2 separate regions of the Homo sapiens genome follow, and region 2 is linked to region 1. The links are contacts of gene promoters, found by promoter capture Hi-C in human tissues and cell types (Jung and others, 2019). All regions are on one chromosome and are shown on one strand. The core of a region is centred on a gene start or on the middle of the fragment in contact, and the rest is flanking DNA. Distances in the headings are between cores, read along the strand shown. Region 1 holds the start of UNC5C (unc-5 netrin receptor C). Region 2 overlaps UNC5C (unc-5 netrin receptor C).

Region 1 (7,682 bases), core at 2,308-4,807:
GTCTGTTCCTTAAACACCTGCAGTATTCCAACCCTAAAAAGTCAAATTCCAATAAATTTTTGGTGAAAATTTGGCAAAACTTGATTTTATTCAACAACTAGAAAAGCCTACTCATAATTTGATAACTTGAGAGGCTGAAGAGGAGAGGAAGAAGGTTTAATGAAGGACTTAGCTCAATTTTAAATCCATTGGTTCTGATTCAATCCATTCAATATTCAGTAAGTATTTATTGATCACCTATTATGTACAAGGTATTGTTCCAGGTTCTGGGTATAGAGCACTGAATGTATTAGAAAAAAATTTCTCCCCTGAGAAGCATACATTTTATTGCAGACTGCATATATATATACATGTATACACACACACACACACAAATATATATATACACATATATGTACATATATAAAGTAAGTGTTATATGCAAAATCAAAGCTGGCAAATGATATTTTGGATGATAGATTGTTGCTATTTTAGGTAACTTGATCAGTGAATGCCTCCCTAAGCAGTGTCATTTGAACCCAGATCTCGATGACTTTAGTAAACCTATTCTCAGGAGCCTATAAAACACTATTATTTCTCTCATGAGGAAAAAATGTGATGATCAACAAAAGTAGTCAGGATGTTAATTCACAAGACAAGTTCCATCTGTACTTGTAGAGAGCAGGAAACTTGCCTGCTGTGTAAAGCTGATGTATTGCTGGTGTTTTTCCTGTCCTTTGTGTGGTGCTCTCACTCTCTTCCCCCTTTTCCACCTCATTACTCTATACCACTTCTCAAACCATTCTCCTGCCATCTTTAGGCTGAATTTCAGTATTTAACTACATTTCCTCTTTTAATCTCGTATTCTTTATTTTAAGGAACTAATTGCATGTGGTATCTGTCACTGAGTACCTCAATACCCCAAACAGGAGTAGGCGACAATTTCAACCTTCTTTAGCTGTCCTAGACTTTGAGGAGTCTTCCCCATTGAGCTTTTTTGGCAGGAAATCAGTCAATATTGATTGAGTACCAACTATATATCAGGCTCAGTTTAGGAGCTGTGGTTGAAATAATGAACAAAGGCAAAATCTCTGTCTTAAAAGAGTTAAATTCTAATTTAAGAAGACAGGCAATAAAATTGTAAATAAATAACTTTTGGATGTCGTTGATGTGATGGTGAGTATGTGTGGAGATTTCTTAGTACTTAAGCTGTTGTCCTTCTTAGTAAAATTGTACATATAAATATAAAGTATAATAATAATCCCTTGTGAAGTCATTCTCAAAATACTTGACAAGTTATTAGTGGCCTCGATACACCATAAAATATGGTAGCTGCTGGCCACATGTGACTATTTAAATTAAAATTAAATAAAAATTTCCAATTCACACTAGCCACATTGCATGCAAGTAGCCACATGTATCTCATAACTACGACCTCAGAAAGTACAGATATGAACATGTTCTTCATTGCAGAAATTTCTGCTGAACAGCACTGGTGTAGATAGCATGAGGCTAATGGGAATTTTTCATCAATGGTAAGAACAGCAGTTTACAATTTTGGCGTCAGGCATTTTACATATGTTTAACTTACATAATCCTCAAATAACCCTATGAGATAGTTCCTGTTACTAGACCCATCTTACAAATTAGGGAAGAGAGGCACCTAGCTTTAATGTTCAATATCAGTCAAGTAATAAGAAATGCTAAGAACTGAAGGCAGACAGTCTGGTGCCAGCACCCACCCTGTTGTCAAATATCTTGATGTCTTGGTATGGAGAAGATGAAGAGAGTGAAGAAGGGTTTTGTGTGGTGGACAGAGTCTCCACAGAAATAAGAAGTGGCCAGTTTTGTCAATGTCTTTGGCAAATACTACCTTTTCGGATCTCCCTGATTCATCCGAGATAGGTCTTATTGCCTAGATGGGGCTGTGCAGGCAGAATCATAGAATGTTAGAACTTAAGAGAACTTTGAAACTATCAAAATATTTCACAAATGAAGAAACTGAGACATTCACAGGTTACCTGACTTACCCAGGGTAACAGAGTAGTTATGACCACAGCCAAAATTAGACCTCATGTTTCCTGCGTGTGTGTGTGCATGCGTGTTTACACATGGCCCCCTTGGCACCAAGAGCATAAAATTCCCTGATGTATTATTAGTTTAAAGACATGCTAATCTTGGGAAGTGATTTTCTTTTTCCCAAAATGTTGTCTGTGTCTGTGTGTTGACCTTTTAATAAATTCACTTTCCTTTTGTCTAGTCTTATTTTACCCACCCAATCTTGCATCCCTCCATCATGACCACAGGGATTCACAACCCAGCTACGTAGACAATTATTTCCTGTAGAAAGGTAAACAAATTCATAGCAGCTCGAGTTCTTACACACACTATTAGAAATTTGAAAAACATGTTATAGGCTCCACCATCACTTTGAGTATCTACAAATTTTGCTTTGCATTTTTTTTTTCTAAGAGAGTTTCTCTCGGTATCGCATCACCACCCTTGTCAGCCACCAACATGCACGCAAAGAAAGCACTGTTGCAGAATGAGTTTCCGTCGAGCTTTTAGTTTCTGTTCCACTGCAAAGGGGTCATACGCGCTCAGAACATAAAGCAGTCTGACTGGCGCTGACAACCCCAGGACAGCAGCCGGCTGGGGCAGTGCAAAAGCTTCATGCCTTCTTCCCCAACCAAGAAGGACTTCAGTTCGAGCCCGCACCGGCTTCGTCAACCGCGAGACCCGAAGTCGTAGACCGAGTCCAGTCCTAGGGAATTCGGCTGAGGCTTTGCCGGCGCGGCGAAGAAGGTGGCAGGCGGCAGGCTGAGCTCCACTGGACACAGCCTAGTGGCCCGGGGCGCGCCCGCTGCACTCCCGGCGTCCAGGTCTGGCGCACCGCGGGAGGCAGGCGCGCTGCCACTCTCCGCAGCCGCTTCGTCCCCTGGTCTGTCTCGCCTCGGCTTCAGCGGGCAAACCCACAGCTGGTCTCCTGGGCGCTGATCTCCCTGCAATCCTTGCTTACATAAGGCGGGCGGGCGTGCTCCCGCCCCCGGTTACCCCCCAGAGGAGTTGTGCTGCGCCCTCTACGCCTCCTTGGCGAGCGCCTTCGCGCACCCGTGCGCCCTACTCTAGGATGTGAACCTCCTTGGCCACCCAGCAGCGACAGCCGGGACATCTCTCCGCCGGCGTGAGAACACTGAGATTGGAGACCAGAGCGCCTGACGGTGCCCAAGCTTCCTCCCTCCGTTCCCTCCTCCTCCAACTCCCCCCACTTCAACCCCCACCCCCACCCCCACCCCCGGTGTCTGTGTGTGTTCCTCACAGGCGAGGGGACCCGGAGAGCAGTCCAGACTTCGGCGTGCGGCGGAGCTGCGGCTGCTCCTGCTGCTGGGGGGAGCGGCGGAGGTGGCCGCCTTGCGCCTCCCTGGACTTCCCAAGTGGGGGCAGAGCAGTCGCTCGCGGGAGACGTCAGTTAGAAGGCATTGGGAAAGAGGGACCTTCAAACTCCTCCTCGGCGTCTCCTCTCCTCCCCCTTTTGGCCCCTGCCTTTGGAGAAAGTGGAGTGTGGCGCTTGGTTGTCGTTATTTCTTCGGACTGCTTCGCGGTGCACGGATTCAGCTTCTGCCCAGTGGGGCTTTCAGCTGTTTGCGCGTCTCTCTGTCCCCCTCCCCTCCCCCCGGCACACCTCTGTCTACGATGAGGAAAGGTCTGCGGGCGACAGCGGCCCGCTGCGGACTGGGACTGGGATACTTGCTGCAAATGCTCGTGCTACCTGCCCTGGCCCTGCTCAGCGCCAGCGGCACTGGCTCCGCCGCCCAAGGTAAGGGGGTCCGCCAAGCTCCGCGGCCACCTCCCTTAGCTTCTTCCTTCCCTCCTTCCTCTCCTCCTCCCCAGTTCTCTTGACTTCCTCAATTTGCCTCGTTGCTTTCAACTGGAAACCACTCTAAATTCCACTTTCCCAACTAGTCAAGAAGCTTTGATTATAATAATAATAATTATTATTATTATTATGTTTAATCTATCTTCTGAGATGGGCACGAATGGACCAGGGACGAACGGGGTGTGGACACGCAGCCGATCCGTCTCCATACGTGTGGGAGCCTGGAGTGTCTTGTGCCCTTTCAGCTCCGCACGCGCACGTTGTTGCATATTGCACACACGGAGGTTTGGAAAGACTCTCGGTGCGGGTGGCTGTGTGACATACCGTAGATGCACCCCGAAGCGCATGATGCGCAGAGGCTCCCCGCGCTGTGCCAAGACTGGGGTAGCAGGATCTTCACTGAGTCTCTGAGCACACTAGACCCCGAAGGGCGCTCAGCTAAGGAAATGTGTCCATTACTGTCAAGGACTCAAAAGCACCCGTCCCCCTCGCCTGCTGCTTCAGGTGCTGTGGAAATACACAGCTCACCCGAATCCGCGTACCCGGCTGGAGGCAGGCCCGGGATGTGCATGCCTCTGCACTCATACATACCCCGCTTCATGCCTGCTTCCCACCAGGGGATGTAGAAATGAAAATCCCGGAGCTCTGGGGGAACCGGCTGCTTGTTCAAACCAAATCCGAAACTCCCCGGGGTAGTCGACCAGTTTATAACTCTGACATTTTAATTTAACGCCTGTGAACTTTAACATAAGTGACCGGGGCCCTGGGCGAAGCCGGGTTGGGAAGAGTGTGGCCGGGAGTTGGGGATGGGTAAGGGAGGAGGGGAGGCTCCGGAGCTGATCGCCCGGCTCCCTTCTTGTCCGCCTAGTTTGAAGTGTTAGCAGCAGCTCCCAGCCTTCAAAGCCGGGAAAGCTGACTGGAAGGGAGCGCAGAAGAAAGAGCCAAGGCTGTCCCCTCCGGGGTCTCTTTCAGGTCACCTGGGCCCCAAAACTTCTGGCCAAGCCCAGCTCCTACTTGGGTCTCTTAGCCCACTTCAGTGGTGATAGCCGGCTCAGGCGAGGCAGCTCAGCTTTTCCTGGAAGAGGAGAGAATGAAGGAAGCTTATGCAGCATTCAGAGGCAATTCAGGGATTCTCCCTTCACTCTCGGTTACTCTTCCTTCCAAATTTGGAGAGTAAAGGGAGGCTTTACGATAGCCCCAACTCCCCAGGTGATGTTCAGACACCCTAGGGTTTCCGGACAGCATTCCCTCTGATCTTAGAGAGGCGCTGGGGGTGGGGATGGGGGTGTTGGAAGCGGAGGAGAGCGCCTAGCATAGGAGTGCGGTCTGGGTGGAGAGGTAAGTGATTAGCAAGGCTTTGTGAATTAGCGATAGCTTCTTCGGAAGTAAATTTTCCTGCTGCCCTGCTAAGTGGCCCTGCTCATAAATCCTTCCTTCCTTTCTCGCCAGATGCCTCCCATCCCTGAGGTTCTGCTCTGGTTTTCTTATGCACACCTCCAGAGTTCATCTGTCTGTCTATTTAAAAAGGAATCTCCACCGAGAATCATAGCTTGTGGATTTCCTAAAATTGATAAGAAGTTCTCAGGGCGCTAGCCAAGGGTGCTTAGAGGGGGGTGTTTGGAAGCTTAAGTGAACAACCTTATGAATAGTCGTGGAATCAACCGCGCGACTCCCTGTGGAATTCGCCTGCTGTTACTGGGCATACAAAGGACTGAGCCATGGGGGTGGGTGGCGGGAGAGGGGGACGGGGCACGGTGAGAGAACTGTTTGGGAAAAAGACAAGTTAAAGTCCCCAAAGATGCCAAACAAGAGATAGGATTCCTGCTAAGAGCTTACAATAACCAAATTAAAAAGACTGGGTAGAAAAAGGATCAATAAAGATAATCAAACAGCAGATTGTAAATGGATTAATATTGAAAGAAGAAGGGAGAAGAGATTAAAAAGAAAAGATGCTTAGGATAGACTTTTTCTCTTGCACTTTTTGTAGCGTAGGCAAGTTAAAGATTGGGGACTGATTCTCATCTTAAGTGGAAAAAGAAAATGTACTCCGTTGGGTGTATGCATTTCACTGCAGTTCTTGTCCATTTCGTTTATTTAGTTCCTTCAGTTTTTGATTAGTAAAATTTTTGTTTGAATCTCATGGTCTGTAAAATGCACTATTCCACCGCTTTTATCTTTGTTATCCTCCATGTTCCAGGGATAGCAGCTCTTCCTGTGTTGTCTGTTAGTTATCAAAGGAAGGATAAAGCACCAAACTCCACTATCAGCTACTACCTTCATCACTGCAGTACAGTAACCCAGCCTGTTTATCTTGAGCCACCGTTAACACTTTCCTTGCAGAATCACACATTTTATAAATGGTCTGATAGTCAGACCTCCTTTTCCTTCTTATTCTTCTTCTTTCTCCTTTCCTTGGACTAGAACACTAGCCCATACCCTCAAGGTATGATTTCCTTGTGGTGATGACTTAAAGATCCAAATGAACTATTTCTTATGAATGAAAGTCCAAGAGCAATTAACATGGGAAAGTTACTTTAAGCACTTTACAATGTGGATGAGGTTTTTATTCTGTTGCTGAAGTACTGCAAAAATTAGAAGTATGTATATATATCTTCAGAGATAATCAAGGAAACAACAGATATTTAAGATAAAACATAGAATAGGCATTATTTGTGAGTGTACTGAGTTTTGTAACTGTGGTTTAGGCAGCAGTCATTTTCAATAGGTCCTTGGGAAATTCTCTAGGCTGTAGGCAACAACTTTCTCCTTTCTGGCTATGCCCTAATTGTTTCATTCAGGATTGCTGGGAACTCCTAGCTCCAGGGAATTTGTAGTGTTTGTGACTTCCAAGAATGAAAGATTTTACTAGTAAAAGGCAGTGTGTGTGTGTGTGTGTGTGTGCGCGCGCGCGCGTGTGTGTGAGATCAGTGTGCTTCTGAATTAGGACCCTCCTGGTTTATAAATGCATTTTATCTGGGCTACACAGCATTGATATGCTGCTTATCTAGCTCCAACTAGTGTTATGAGTGTTAACACCACCAAACTCAGGACAAAAAATTACTGAAGTCTCTAATTAGATTGGGATAATTCCCTATTATCTTAATTCATAGTTTTTTTTTTTAAATAACATATGTCTTCCTACAAAAGAGTAAAAATTCCTTTATGCATGTTTGCATATTGGTGTGGTACAAATAGACAGTCAACAGTGAAGACAACTAAAGTTCATTACAATTCTATCGTATACTTTTTCATTGTAGGAGTACAGAAAGTTTATGAATTCACATTAGGAATATGCAATAAGGAAAAGTAGGCTAGTTTACTTCTGTTTAGAAAAATAATTTTGTGTATTCTAGCTTAGAGAATGCTTAAAATCTTCAAAGAATAAACTTTTCAAACACTTGCAAAGAATTAGGAATCATTAGATTATAACTGACATTTATTGACTCCCTGGACTCCTGTATTCTGGATACTGAGGGTAAAGAGTTAAATAAGACAGGGTCCTCGAACACCTCCTATTGTAGTTTGGAGCTGGTTGTCCTAGTCAGAACTTGTATGGGTCTATTTTAAGCAACCCCCCCTAAGGACATGAACAAGGCATGAGCTCTGCTAAGTAAACCCTGTTAGCTTATTTAGAATTATTGTTGAGACTTAAACATAACTGTTCTCTAATGTATGCTAGGTTCTCCAATTAGTGCCAACAGCAAGTGTGCTCTATTAGGCCTTAACTGCGTTTAACACTTTTCTGATTTAGGTCATGGCTTTGCAGAAGCAGCAGAGGGAGTCACTCTCAGAAGAAACATTAAAATTACAGGCTGCAACCACTTTA
Region 2 (7,682 bases), core at 1,552-4,051, 46 kb after region 1:
AAGGAAATTGGACAGGAACTCTTGAATTGGCCTCTTGTTTGCCTAGTTCTATTGACCTGTACCAGGGTGGTTACACTTTGGAGGCCGTAAGTTGTTCATTTGCTACTGTTCTTAATCAATAAATTGTTCCTTGCCAATGAATAATTAGAATCAAATTCTGATAACGGACCAGTTAAAGCAGGGAGCAAAATTCTGAAATTAAGAAGTGAATATTTGTTGATTTTTCTCTTTGAGCCCCTGTCATATATAGCGTTGTCATTTTTATTTAGTAAGAGATTATTGGAATACTTGGGTAAATAAGCGTAAGTCTCTTATTTTAGATGGGTTGCATTTGAACACCTTAAAAATATAGAAGTTTTTTAATGAAAGCAATTGTATAAAAAATAAAAATTAATATCATAAGATCATAAAAACTATAAAACAGACCACCCCCAAATTTAAACTGCAATGAATGACATCATAGGGCAAAGACATTAGTTGATGATTCATATTAATGAGGGTATGCACACATATATGCATATGTAATATCTTTGCAAAAGCTTTTTAAAGAGCTGTTAATTTGATTTTGGCACAAAGGTTAATTTTTCGTGCCTTGTTATAATGTGTCAGCATTTTTTTGAAACCACAGCTCAATTTTGTTACTATATTTGTAGACCTGAAGTGACGTGTGTTTTTCTCCAATTTAAAAGAATTTTCTCCTTGCCTTTAAATAATAGACAAAATCCGTAATGAAATACCCCCTGAATTATTCAGTACCTTGATCATGATTATAATTTATGCTAGCTTTTTCAAGAGTGCTATTGAGAAGTTTAGTTTACAAAGATGTGATTCATATAACACATATATATGTTCTTTACATGTATCTGCCACAGACTTGGGTCAAGAGGAAATGATAGTTGCCCCAAATGGACAACTAGGAATTTGAAGACAGAAAGTTAAAGAAATGCTAAAAGTGCTGTTTGCTTTTTTGCTGTATTTAGAACTGAGCGGTGGGTAAGCTTGTTCAGAGGGGAGTGCTGTTTGCAGTAAGTAAGAGGCAGAAGCCCTAAGTGTTCAAAGACAAAGAAAAATGAAATACATTTGCCAAAAACTGGAGGACCAGGAAGTGCCATCTTATATTACCATCCACTGAATGTTCATTATTTCATAGAAAATGTCGGTGGGACTTCAAGAATAGGAGTCATGTTTTACTGCTAACATATGTGGAGTTAAGATAAAATCATGCATTACAAAACTGTAGGAAATAAGTGTTTAGGATTCTTAGTGATATTACATAGTGGTGATTGATTAATGACATAAATTTGAAATTCCTCTTGGACTGATGTGAACTGATAATTAGGGACTGTGGTGAAAGAGAAGAAAATGCCATAGAATTCTGAAACTAGAATTTGTTTTGTTATATCAAGGATACAAGTGAAAAATTTTCACTGAATATAAGTGAAATGGTGGGGGAGCAGATGGAAGCGGTCTTAACTGACAGCCAACAATGAGGAATTTGGAGGAGTGATGAGGGGCCATGCTATTTTATGCTTTTCTTAAAGAGTTGGCTAAATGGTTTTGAATATTCTTCAAGTAAAAGGACAGAAATATAATAAAAAGTACATAAAGCATGTTGATTATTCTATTATTTTAGCATCTTTTAATAAAGTTGCTAAAGGGTTTATTTTATTTGACATCTATTCTTTCAGAAGGTTTGTGTCCTGATGGCAGCCAGATGATATTAGAAAAAAGGAACTGAATTTGTTGCATTAGAAAATTATGTCAAATGACTCTCTAATAGACAATAAATTACAATTACAAATCAAAATAAAAGCCAACTTATTAATGTTACAAAAGAAGAGATGTATTGTCCAATAATTACAAACTTGAAGAAAATGGGTGACATATTGTCTTAGTTCATTTTGTGTTGCTATAACAGAATACCACAGACTGGCCAATTTAAAAAGAAAAAAAGTTCACAGTTCTGAAGGGTGGGAAGTTCAATATTAAGGTACCGGCAACTTTCTAGGGCCTTCTTGCTGTGTTATTCCATGGTGAAAGGGGAGAGGGTGAGAAAGGACATGAGAGAGAAACCAAGAAGGGGCCTCTCTTTTGTAACAAACCCACTCTAGAGTAACAACAATAATTCATTGATGAAGGCTGAGCCTACATGATCTAATCACCTCTTAAAAGACCACCTGTCAATACTGTTATATAGGGGATCAAGTTTCCAACACATGAATTTTGGGAGACACATTCAAGCCATAGCACATATGAACCAAACTTTTTCACTGAATAGGAAGTTAAGATATGGAATACACTTAGTGAATATAAATAAAAGTTAAAAGAGTAAATTTTGTAATGGACAAAGAGCAAATGTAAGGTTAGTCAGAGTCCAGGATAACATCATTTGAATAATCTTGGATGTGATATCTGTGCGATTCTTTGCGGGAGAGAAATTTTAAAGATTATGGTAATAGTTAATACCACTATAATATTCAATATAACCTGAACTTAAATCTGTGCTTTTCCCTAAGAGGAAGTTACAGGGAACAATTTTATTAAGATTTTCATACAATAAAACTGTCTATTTTCATTTTTAGTAATAATGAAAATGGTAACTGACATGTACTGAGTGCTTTCCACGTGTGTGTCAAGCCTGTGCTGAGCATTATATGCATTGTCGTGTAACTGCTCAGATTAAATGTAAGTCTAGCACAAAATGTTTGTCCATATAAGTCAAAAAATGTTGGCCGAGCACACCCCTATAATCTCAACACTTTGGGAGGCTGAGGCTGGAGGCCGGCTTGAAGCCAGGAGTTTAAAGACCAGTCTGGGCAACAAAGCAAGACCACATCTCTACCAAAAGAATTTTAAAAATAAGCTGGGCATGGTGGTGTGCAACTGTTGTCCCAGCTGCTTGGGAGGCCGAAAGGGGAGGATCGATTGAACCCAGGAGTTCAAGGCGGCAGAGAGCTATGATTGCACTACTGCAGGCAGCCTGGGCAACAGAGCAAGACCCTGCCTCTTTAAAAAAAAGTTTATATGATAATTATTTTCTGTTACATTTCTAATAAAGTTTCTAATCCAGTTTTTACAAGGTGATTGGGGGCCAGTCATAATCCATTGTTGCAACCAATCACACTGGAAGTAACATGTTCGTCATTAAAAGACCAACTGTAAATGCTCCTTTACTTTTGTCAAAACTAGTAATGAAGTAAGAACACAGCACCATGATACGAATTTTAAACATTCCTCAACTAATGGGCCATACTTTTAGAAGAAATAAAACAGTGGTCACTTCTTCAGAGGCTGATTTGTCAACATAACACTAAGGGAAAAGAAAAGTCCTCTCTTCTTCTGCTGTGGCTGAATCACCACAGGCTTCCAATCAAAAAATAAATATTTCCAACATAAGAGGAAGGAAGCTTTGGTAAATATATGTATATATTTTTCAAAAACTGTTTTACATGAAAGAGGTCATTCATCACTGTAAGAATATTTTCAAAGGTAGCATCAGACGTGAAATTCAAAACTCCCTCAAAACTGAATCCTGAAAAAAGAACTATAACAGACAAAAGAATCCTTGGGTTTATATGTGTTCCTGGATTCTCTGATTTGCCTTTATAATACTTTCACAAGCTATAGTTTATTATTTTTAAAACCACTTTACTTCAAAATTATTGTATTTCAGCATCTAATCCATACACATGTAATAAGAGGAGCCAAATAATTTATTAATTTAACAATAGTGATGGAGATTTCTGCACTCATTAGCATGTAACAATATTCATATTTGTTAGGTTGAAAATGACCTTTGCCCTATGAAAAGTTTTGTTAAGCTAATTAGTAACAAAAAATATGTTGCAAATGGACATTGTTAGCCTCCTTAAAAAGCAAACTTCTTTTAACTTCTCTTAATTAAATAGCAAAATTATGTGTAAATACTGTATTTGTGGAATGATTGATACTTGTTGCTGACCAAAAAAGCCCTAAATTATAGTCTAGTTTTCAGAATTCTGAGCCAATAAAAAAAATGCCTCTAGCTAGTTCTTTTAAAGAACACAAGCCCACACTGAACAGAGGGCTAGCTGCTTATATGTCATTAAAAAGCAAAACCTAATTGTACTATCATGTATTTATTGCGTCTATAAAGCACCTTCCAAGAACTTAAGTAAGAACATTAATTTGTACCTGTATTTTAATGCAGAAGTAGAATTCCATCTCTTTCAGTGCTTATGAGTTTGGTGTTTTAATTCCACCCCAAATTACCTAAATTCTACAAATATTTATTAACACACAGGGAGTAGTATTATTCTAAGAGTTTTTCGACTAATGATCATGCAGTAGTATCTAAAATAGCTATTGATGTTAGAAAGTTGTAACATTTCTTTTCCATGTAATAGCACATGATATGCCCAAGGGAAAAAATATACGGTATTTGTACATAAACCCAATCAAGGTGATATCAGTGGGACTGAATTTTTCTTCCTTAAATAACCAGTAAATGAAAATTGCTCTCTAGCATCTCAAAGGAGAAAATGCTAAAAACTATTAGCTAACAGAGCTTTCTGCCTGGCTGCATTAATTTTCTATTCATTTTAGTAAAAGGAAAGTTTTGATAGGCCTTATAAATTACAACATGTTCCTAGTAGACTAATAGCTTGAGGAAGAACATATAATAGCTCTCCTTAATCAAAATAAGAGCAAGTTGTTGTTTATGCAGCTGAGGAACCTTGGATCAAGGGTGCTGATTTTATTATTTCGATGCCAAAACAAAAGTAATCCATATAAACATGACCAATGTTTAGAAAGGTTAGGAAAAAACTTATTAATGTGGCTCTAGCAGGCAGAGTTTTTTGGGAACTCATCCATTTTTTATAACTAGCTTGTTTTTTTTAGAACTTAATATGGCCAGACATTGTTGTATAAGCACAAGGGCCATCATATTGAGCAAAACACTTCTATAGTCCCTGTTCTCATGGAATTTATTGTCTGGCAAGAAACCAAATGGGTAGAATAAGGTTTGTAGGACTTTAAACTCCTTCAAAACTGGAGACCATCTAACTATTTATTCGTTGTGGCATGATAAGGTGCTAAGAATGAAACCAAAATGGAAATAATATTTATGTTCTATTAATATTAAAAAGAAAATCCTGCAGCACTTCTGTGAACTGGGTGTTATAGGACTGGCTGATCCCAAAACAAAACTCCTACGTTTTTATCATTTATATTAAGTTTCCATGTCAATTGGTTTTACTGGTCAAACTACCTTTAGTTCATCTACTATTGAGTCAGACACTAAAGGTGTATTAAGTCTTCCAAGGATGGAGGGATTATCCTCATGTGCCTACTGTTTCCTGAAATTTAAATCTGCACTGAATGGCCTAGGATGTATAGACAGTTAACCTCCCTGAAACACAGCCTATCCTTTTTTGTTAATTTCCACAGTGAATGACAGTTCTTTAATATCTATCTTTTCCTCCCCAGTGCTCCCATCTTATATATGTGCACATACATACCTCCAACTTCTAACCGGACATCAATGTAAACTTACCTTAATAGCTTTGGCAGATACCTGTGATCAAGGGGAGGGAGCTTACTGGAGTGTGTTTGGTCTCCCTGGAAGACTGAAGGGGTTTAGGTTTCCTGTAATTGACTCCTGTGCTCCTCCCTTTTTCTCCCCACAACTTCACTTCTCTCGCCAGATCAGTGTCAGTAGGTAAGTAAATCCATTATTTGAAAGCTGTCTGTTGACCTTTTCTTCATGATTGATTGCATGAAAAGTGCATGGGAGTGAGATTTCCAGAGAAGAGAATGGTCATGCTACCTGCCCTTGCCACTTCTCCCAGAATATCACTGGGGTTTCCCACAGAGGCAAAGGCTGCTTGGATAGAAGCAATACCTGAGAATGCTCTCAAGTAACCATGGTGAAGCTGAAAGCCACATCCAGCATTGCTCCACAGCCGGTGAGAATTATTTATAAAGACAGGGCAGGGGCTGAGTGGTTTATTGGCCTTCAAAACATTCCTGATGGGACAGTGACCAGGTCTGCAGTTGCCTAAGGGTGTTAAGCCAACTTTTAAACCTCCACCTATTATATCCAGAGTATTCCTTCTAACTTGGACTTGAAGAATAACCAGATTCCAACCTTTTCTCAAGTTGGAAGTTACATAATGAATGATAGCTGTCCTAGAATAAGAAGTATATTTTAAAACTTTATACCTTAAAATATTTTTCTTACTTGAGTCTGCATTTCATCAGGTCTCCTGTAAAGCTTTAGTTTTCTTCCATGTCCATGAGGAAAAAGAGGTTTCATTATCAAGACTCTTCTAATAGTGAATATTTTAAACTTGCTCTGGAAAAAATTAAGCACAAGTACGTTTGGAGAAGTACATTTTTATTTTAATAAGACAGTAGATTTGTTGCAGCAAAAGATAGCAAAGTATCAGTAGTTGAAATAGCGATTATATGTGTCTTGACCAAACTTAGAATCCTTATGAAGTTTTACATGTCATTTCATACAAATCAACTCCAAAATAAAATTTTAAAGGCAAAATTTGAATTCAGTTATAGTGATATATGATCCTAAGGAAAAAAAAAAAACACTGTATGTTCCAATCTGAAAACATTTTTGGAAGGAATAAAACGATAAAACAGAAGGGGTTTTTCACTGTTTTTAAAATTTTATAAATATGTAGAGATTGGCTTAAAGTTTGGGATACAACAAATCAGTGAAGAAAAAATCGTACCATTATATGTTAGCATCAGCTAACATTTGTATACACTTTTTACTTTTTAGAGTACTTTGGTAAGGAGTATCTCATTCAGTGTTTTTAGAAAAGATGGAATGTTTTCCTTTTTTATGTAACACTTTTCAACTAGTCAAAGGAAAATGTTTAATTTTAAGTACAGCTACTCTTGCTTTCCTTTGCTTATGGCTTACTGAATGATCTTTCCTTTTGCTAAAATAATTAATACTATATAATTCTGATTTGAGGCTAGAAAATAAGAAACTCAAAGATCATTACAACTGGTAAGCAAAGTTGTGCATGGGGCTGAATAAAACAACTCAAAAAGAATGATTATTCAAAATATTGTTACCTAATTCTGCAACATTAAGGGAATTATAAGCAGTAGTTGCTATTTCCTTGTTCTCTACTGACTTTCGGGGTCCATGATAGATGTTTGGTAAATAATAGTCTCTGATGCTTGAAAAGCCTTAAAGCTACTTATTATTATCCCCATTTTACAGATAAGAAAACAGAATGTGAAGTGGTAGAGCAATTACCTAACTCTAAACCCAAGTCTCTGAGATTTGGAAGCTGTGCAGCTTGTGCATTATGCCATGACTATGATATATCTGCTCACTAAGTTGAATATCATGTAGCTATTTAAAAGCTTATTAAAGAATTATGTAGGATTATATGAAAATACTTGGGAGGAATAAATGACAATTTTGGTCTCAATAAAATGCGTATTTTTTAAAAGACTGGGAAAAACACAAGATAAAAATGGTTTTCTTATTATGCTTTTCACCTTTGCTACAGTTTCTTAACTTTCTCTAATACCATTATAATTATATTGCTCAAAAACATCTATTTTTAAATAATAAATGGATCAAATGGTCAAGTAGTAAATGAGTATGTGGAAAATACTATTATTTTATCTGTGTGCATTTTGTAGTGTATTAAATTCATTAC

What was found. Contacts are between HindIII fragments. The study calls those that stand out against the background at their distance.
Region 2: a contact is called between a fragment that was not itself captured here and the fragment with the promoter of UNC5C in region 1, in 1 of the 25 tissues and cell types used here (hippocampus).

The regions. Positions count from the first base shown.
Region 1 is chr4:95,544,848-95,552,529 of GRCh38, reverse strand. It overlaps UNC5C (unc-5 netrin receptor C), which reads left to right and starts at 3,557. Exons shown (of 16, transcript NM_003728.4): 1 at 3,557-3,796. The coding sequence starts at 3,673. It overlaps UNC5C-AS1 (UNC5C antisense RNA 1), which reads right to left and starts at 3,382. Exons shown (of 5, transcript NR_183914.1): 1 at 3,299-3,382. RefSeq lists an enhancer at 2,986-3,115. The HindIII fragment of the contact is 1,524 bases long and covers 2,930-4,453 here.
Region 2 is chr4:95,497,613-95,505,294 of GRCh38, reverse strand. All of the region lies in intron 1 of UNC5C (unc-5 netrin receptor C), which reads left to right. Among named protein-coding and RNA genes, the nearest start is that of UNC5C, 48 kb to the left of the region's middle. The HindIII fragment of the contact is 4,063 bases long and covers 770-4,832 here.